2 separate regions of the Homo sapiens genome follow, and region 1 is linked to region 2. The links are contacts of gene promoters, found by promoter capture Hi-C in human tissues and cell types (Jung and others, 2019). All regions are on one chromosome and are shown on one strand. The core of a region is centred on a gene start or on the middle of the fragment in contact, and the rest is flanking DNA. Distances in the headings are between cores, read along the strand shown.

Region 1 (3,431 bases), core at 625-3,124, 35 kb after region 2:
TGCCAAACATTTTTTAAATTGAGTCAGACATGGTGGCATGTGCCTGTGATCCCAGCTACTTAGGAGGCTAGGGTGGGAGGATCTGCTTCAGTCCAAGAGGTTGAGGTTGCAGTGAGCGGTGATGGTACCACTATATTCCAGCCTGGGAGACAGAAATCCTGTCTGAAAAACAAAGCAAAACCAAACCAAACCAAAAAAAAATATTGTTTATTTTTCTTCACATAAGAGGAAAAGATTCCTCCACAAGGCTCTTCAGGATTTGCAGCTGTTCTCACCCAAATGCACAGGAAGTTCCACATGGCAACTAGGAAATAATGTTAAACAAAGGCATTTAGAACCAAGGTTCCTTTTCGCAGAGGCCACAGGATAGAACTACGGACTGTGGAATTTTGCAGACTTATTTCTTCTTTCAGGGAAAACACAACACCTCATGCAGTGAAGGACTGAAGCTCCTCTTGGGCTGGTATTCCTGAGGCAGAACACAGGTCCCTCACCCCGATGCCCACGACCACTCAGTAACAACATCTACCACCATTCGGAGGCAAGACAAACTGCATGAGTAACCCAGCACAGCCACTCAGATGTCACTTCTTCCTGGTGAAGAAGCAGAACCCTAGATTCACAAAATAAACAGTCATCTACAGGCACATGTACTGGGTATTTTTGTTTAAATTTTTGTTTAAATGAGGACCTAGTCTGGTCCTCAGGGAAAAACCTAAGGTTTATAAAAGAAAAGGCCTGGCTGGGCGCAGTGGCTCAGGCCTGTAATCCCAGCACTTTGGGAGGCTGAGGTGGGCGGATCACAAGGTCAAGAGTTTGAGACCAGCCTGACCAACATGGGTGAAACCCCGTCTCTACTAAAAATACAAAAATTAGCCCCGGACGTGATGGCACGCGCCTGTAATCCCAGCTGCTCAGGAGGCTGAGGTAGGAGAATCGCTTGAACCAGGGAGGCTGCAGTGAGCCGAGATCGCACCACTGTACTCCAGCCTGGGTGAGAGATCGAGACTGTCTCAAAAAAACAAAAAACAAAAGGTCTAACTTTTCGATTCATTTTTATTTCTTTTTTTTTTTTTGAGATGGAGTCTCGCTTTATCACCTAAGTTGGCGTGCAGTGGCACGATCTCAGCTCACTGCAACCTCCACTTCCCAGGTTCAAACAATTCTCGTGCCTCAGCCTCCCAAGTAGCTGGGACTACAGGCATGTGCCACCATGCTTGGTTAATTTTTGTATTTTTAGTAGAGACAGGGTTACAACACATTGGCCAGACTGGTCTTAAACTCCTGGCCTCAAGTGATCCGCCCACCTCCGCCTCCTAAAGTGTTGGAATTACAGGTGTGAGCCACTGCACCCGGCCTCACTTTTCACTTTAAACAAATAAAACCTACAGGGATCAAAGGTAAGTCAGCATCAGGGCGCAGTGGTTTACACTGTGATCCTAGCACTCTGGGAGGCCAAGGTGGGAGGATTACTTGAGCCCTGGAGTCTGAGACCAGCCAGGGCAATGTAGTGAGACCTCCATCTCTACAAAAAATTAGTCAGGCGTGGTGGCATGCACCTGTAGTCCCAGATACTCAGGAAGCTGAGGTGGAGGATAGCTTGAGCCAGGGAAGTCGAGGCTGCAGTGTGCTGTGTTTGTGCTATGGCACTCCAGCCTGGGCAACAGAGCAAGACCATGTCTCCAAAAAAAAAAAAAAAAATAGGCTGGGCATGGTGGCTCACGCCTGTAATCCTAGCACTTTGGGAGGCCAAGGCAGGTGGATTGCCTGAGCTCAGGAGTTTGAGCCAGCCTGGGCAACACGGTGAAACCCCGTCTCTACTAAAATACAAAAAAAATTAGCCAGGCGTGGTGGCATGAGCCTGCAGTCGCAGCTACTCAGGAGGCTGAGGCAGGAGAATTGCTTGAACCCAGGAGGCGGAGGTTGCAGTGAGCTGAGATCGCGCCACTGCACTCCAGCCTGGGCGATAGAGCGAAACTCCGTCTCTTAAAGAAAGAAAGAAAACAAAATAAAGTCAGTCGGCAATAAGAGAGTCAATGATTTTCCCTCTGATCTTCCTTCTGTCTTCCTGAGACATAGTTTCTCTCACATTGATTCCAATCAGAAACTCTGTAAAGATAGGCTGATGCGGGTACTCCACCATCCCAACTACAGATTGAAACTGGAGGATATTAGACCAAATTGGCCAAGAGAGGGGAAAAAAAAAAGAAAGTAGAGAAGAGAGGGTGCTGGCTGAGAGGTGGGGACAATGGGCAACAGCCCCCAGGTGATCACAGCTGCTCCACAGTCCCATCACATCTGTTAAACTCCCTCTCCACACTGTGGTCAGGTGAAAATGCAGACTCTATAACACGGGAGGTGGCTGGTAAAGCTCCTAGGAAGAAGAGCAGAGCCTTTTCCTGTTCCCAGCATCTCTTGTGTGTGCCCCTAGCCCAGAGATCACGGTAGGTGTAGGGATGGGCAAGGATGAGTAAGGAAGCTTCAGGAAGAGACTTCCCAGGAGTGTCACAGTATGTCATCTTGCAGAAAGTACCCAACTCTCTAGAGTCTGCCTCCAAAACTTAAACTCCCAGCCTGGTCCAAAGCACTCTTCAAAGAAGGCACGCACATTGGACAGAGTGTGGCAATGGGTATGAGCATTCAGCATTATCGTCCTCACTGACAATCTACAGAAATGACAGTCCAGGAGAGGTAAAGAGACTCGTCCAAAGCCACTCAGACGGTGGTGACCAAATATCCTGGACCCAAATATCCTAGTTCCCCATCTGGGGCTCCTTCTATCACTCCGGAAAGACTCCAGCAGTGCTGGGCCTCATCCAGTCAAGGCCTTGATCCTTCCCCATGCCACTGAGTTGGTGAACCCACAAAGCTTTCCTGAGGATCTTTCCTGAAGGGTCTGCTTTAGAAACCTCCATTCCAACTATAATCTGAGTCACACTGCTCACTGCTCTACTCCAGACTGCCTTTGATCACTACAGCTGTCAGACCCTTGAGGGAAGGGGCCATTCTCAGGTTTCCAGAACTCCCTTGGTACTTATCAAATTGCTGAACTCAGAGCAAATGAAATGTGGTCTGGCCGGGCGCAGTGGCTCACGCCTATAATCACAGCATTTTGGGAGGCCAAGGCAGGTGGATCACCTGAGGTAAGGAGTACAAGATCAGCCTGGCCAACATGGTGAAACCCATCTCTACTAAAAATACAAAAAAATTTCCTGGGCATGGTAGTGGGCACCTGTAATCCCAGCTACTCAGAAGCTGAGGCAGGAGAATCATTTGACCCTGGGAAGCAGAGGTTGCAGTAGGCTGAGATCATGCCACTGCACTCCAGCCTAAGCGACAGGGCAGCACTCCGTCTCAAGAAAATAAAAAGAAAGAAAAAGAAAAACAGGCAGGGCACAGTGGCTCATGCCTGGAATCCTAGCACTTTGGGA
Region 2 (3,294 bases), core at 639-3,138:
CGCCACTGCAGTCCGCAGTCCGGCCTGGGCGACAGAGCGAGACTCCGTCTCAAAAAAAAAAAAAGACTTGGGTTTGACTTGATTGAGCCCAGGAGTTCGAGACAAGCCTGGGCAATATAGTGAGACCTCATCTCTACAAAAATTTTAAAAATTAGCCTGGTGCGGTGGCTCATGCCTGTAATCCCAGCACTCTGGGAGGCCGAGGTGGGCGGATCACTTGAGGTCAGAAGTTTGAGACCACCCTGACCAACATGGAGAAACCCCGTCTCTACTAAAAATACAAAATTAGCCGGGCATGGTGGCGCATGCCTGTAATCCCAGCTACTCGGGAGGCTGAGGCAGGAGAATTGTTTGAACCTGGGAGGTGGACGTTGCGGTGAGCCAAGATCACACTATTGCACTCCAGCCTGGGCAACAAGAGCAAAACTCCGTCTCAAAAAAAAAAATTTATTTTTAAATTAGCCAGGTGTAGCCACAGCTGTAGTCAAATCTACTAGGCAGGCTGAGGTGGGAGGATTGCTTGAACCTGGGAGGCAGAGGTTGCAGTGAGCCAAGATGGTGCCACGGCATTCCAGCCTGAGCAACAGCAAGACCCTGTGTCCAAAAAAAAAAAAAAAAAAAACCGTAAAATAGGCCAGGCACAGTGGTTCATGGTTATAAGCCTAGCACTTTGGAAGGCTGAGGAGGGTGGATCGCCTGAGCTCAGGAGTTCAAGACCAGCCTGGGCAACACGGTGAAACCCCATCTCTACCAAAAAAAAAAAAAAAAAAAAAAATTAGCCAGGCATGGTGGTGTGTGCCTGTGGTCCCAGCTACTCAGGAGGCTGAGGTGGAAGAGTGCTTGTGCCTGGGAGGCAGAGGTTCCAGTGAACCGAGATCACACCATTGTACTCCAGCCTGGGCAACAGAGTAAGACCCCATCTCAAAAAAAAAAAAAAAAAATTAAGATAAACCCTTTGGCAGCTGCGTGCTGCTCTTAGCCTCAAACCCAAGTCTTTTTTTTCCCCCTTTGAGACGGGGTCTATTGCCCAGGCTGGAGTGCAATGGTATGATCCATACTCACTGCAGCCCCGAACTCCTGGGCTTCCAAAGTGCTGGGATTACAGGTGTGAGCCACCAGGCCCAGACTGCTGAAGGGTTTAAACCAGAGAAAGAATGTGACCAGATTTCCAATTTAGAAAGACCCGCTCTCTGCAGGGTAAGGAGTAGCCTGGGGGTCGGGGGGCGGGGGGCAAGAATTGCAAGGTAACCAGGGAGGCCAGTGCAATGTCCAGGTGGGAGAGGATGCTAGCTGAGACTAGAAGTGCTAGGAAAAGGATGTGTGCAGACAAGAGGTCACTGGGGAGGTGAAATAACAAGGCTTGGCCATGAGTGGAACCCAACACCCATGGTGCCCTCTTGAGAGAGGGAAGATGGCACCTGAGATGGAAGATGGAAAGACCAGGGTCCCTGTGACTGAGGACTGAGCCTCTGTTTGAGGTTTTTGCAGAGGAGTAAAGGCAACAAAAGAGGCAAGAGTTGGAAGAAAGGTGACAAGGAACAAAAGTCAGCTATGCCTGATGCTACTGGGTGGCCAGCAACAATGCTGACTTGGCCAAGGCTCTGAGAGCTTTACTATGCTGGGACTGGAGGTCAGAGTTGAGGCTAGGGTAAGAGCAAGGGGCTCAGATGGAGGGGGAGGAGGACCTGAACAAGTCCAGAAGGGAAGAGATTTGTCCCTCTATCCAACAGAGTACCCAGTGAGCAGCACAGAGGGCACAGCAAGGGACATCACCCGGTTCCCCAAATGCTCAGAGCCACAAGTGAAGCCAAAAGTGAAAGACAAGATGCAGAAAACCGCCACGGGCCTTTGAGGAAGGGTAAAGGCGAAAGCGAAAGCAGGAAGTACAGACGTGAAGCCTAGCAGAGGACTTTTTAGCTGCTCACTGGCCCCGCTTGTCTGGCCGACTCATCCGCCCGCGACCCCTAATCCCCTCTGCCTGCCCCAAGATGCTGAAGCCAGCCCTGGAGCCCCGAGGGGGCTTCTCCTTCGAGAACTGCCAAAGGTGAAGCGGGGGCGCGGGGGGCGGTCACTCCTGAGCCGCCTCTGCTTGCTCGTGGCCTTTTTTCCTGGCTGGGGGTGGGGGAGGGTGTGTTGGTCGACTTGGGTTCCAGGCTTACCCCGGAAGATGAGGGAGACGGGGACCAGGTTAGGGGAAGCAACAGGGGTCTTGAAAGCAGAGCCGAAACATGGGCGCCCTCCTCCGTTTCCAGAAATGCATCATTGGAACGCGTCCTCCCGGGGCTCAAGGTCCCTCACGCACGCAAGACCGGGACCACCATCGCGGGCCTGGTGTTCCAAGTGAGCAGCGGGGAGGGACGGGGAGCTGGAGGGGAGCCGAGAGTATCGAGCAGGCACTGAAGCTGCGGTCCCTCCCTCTCCTCAGGACGGGGTCATTCTGGGCGCCGATACGCGAGCCACTAACGATTCGGTCGTGGCGGACAAGAGCTGCGAGAAGATCCACTTCATCGCCCCCAAAATCTAGTGAGACTCCCGAGCCCAGTTCCCGTACGCAAAAAAGAACGGCCCCCTCGTTCCCACTCCGGTCCCCGCACGTCCCAGCCCTGCCCACACCGATCCTCCCTTTTGCCTCAGCTGCTGTGGGGCTGGAGTAGCCGCGGACGCCGAGATGACCACACGGATGGTGGCGTCCAAGATGGAGCTACACGCGTTATCTACGGGCCGCGAGCCCCGCGTGGCCACGGTCACTCGCATCCTGCGCCAGACGCTCTTCAGGTGCGGGGGCAGGGCTAACAGGACCCCGGCAGGGGTAGTTACGGGGTTGGGGCCATTGGAAGGCGGGACAGAAAGAAGGGCGGGACCGCGACGGGCCAGGTGACCGGAAGAGGCCGGCCCAAGAGAACCTGGGCTACAGGAAAAGGCGATGTCAGTCATCGGGCGCCAGCCCACAGGAAGGGGCGGGGATAGCACCTAGGAGCTGGGCATAGAGAGGTGGGGCCTAGGCCCCAGCTTGTGGCCGACCCCGCCCATCCTCGAGCAGGTACCAGGGCCACGTGGGTGCATCGCTGATCGTGGGCGGCGTAGACCTGACTGGACCGCAGCTCTACGGTGTGCATCCCCATGGCTCCTACAGCCGTCTGCCCTTCACAGCCCTGGGTGAGCGCTTCTGTCCCTTCTCCTCGAACTCTGCCCCTGTGACCTTGGCCTCACTCCAAACGGCGTCGCAGCGGTTGACTTCAGATGCTTCTCCTGCCTTCAGGCTCTGGTCAGGACGCGGCCCTGGCGGTGCTAGAA

The links. The method cuts DNA at HindIII sites, captures the fragments that hold promoters and counts their contacts. A contact is called where the count stands out against the background at its distance.
Region 1: a contact is called between a fragment that was not itself captured here and the fragment with the promoter of PSMB10 in region 2, in 1 of the 25 tissues and cell types used here (ovary).

What each region holds. Positions count from the first base shown.
Region 1 is chr16:67,899,905-67,903,335 of GRCh38, reverse strand. All of the region lies in intron 1 of PSKH1 (protein serine kinase H1), which reads right to left. Among named protein-coding and RNA genes, the nearest start is that of PSKH1, 8.4 kb to the right of the region's middle. The HindIII fragment of the contact is 3,472 bases long and covers 139-3,431 here.
Region 2 is chr16:67,935,444-67,938,737 of GRCh38, reverse strand. It overlaps PSMB10 (proteasome 20S subunit beta 10), which reads left to right and starts at 1,888. Exons shown (of 8, transcript NM_002801.4): 1 at 1,888-2,044; 2 at 2,253-2,340; 3 at 2,426-2,523; 4 at 2,635-2,775; 5 at 3,041-3,156; 6 at 3,260-3,294. The coding sequence starts at 1,989. RefSeq lists enhancers at 1,709-1,958, 2,209-2,488, 2,779-2,968, 3,119-3,294. The HindIII fragment of the contact is 5,569 bases long and covers 1-2,859 here.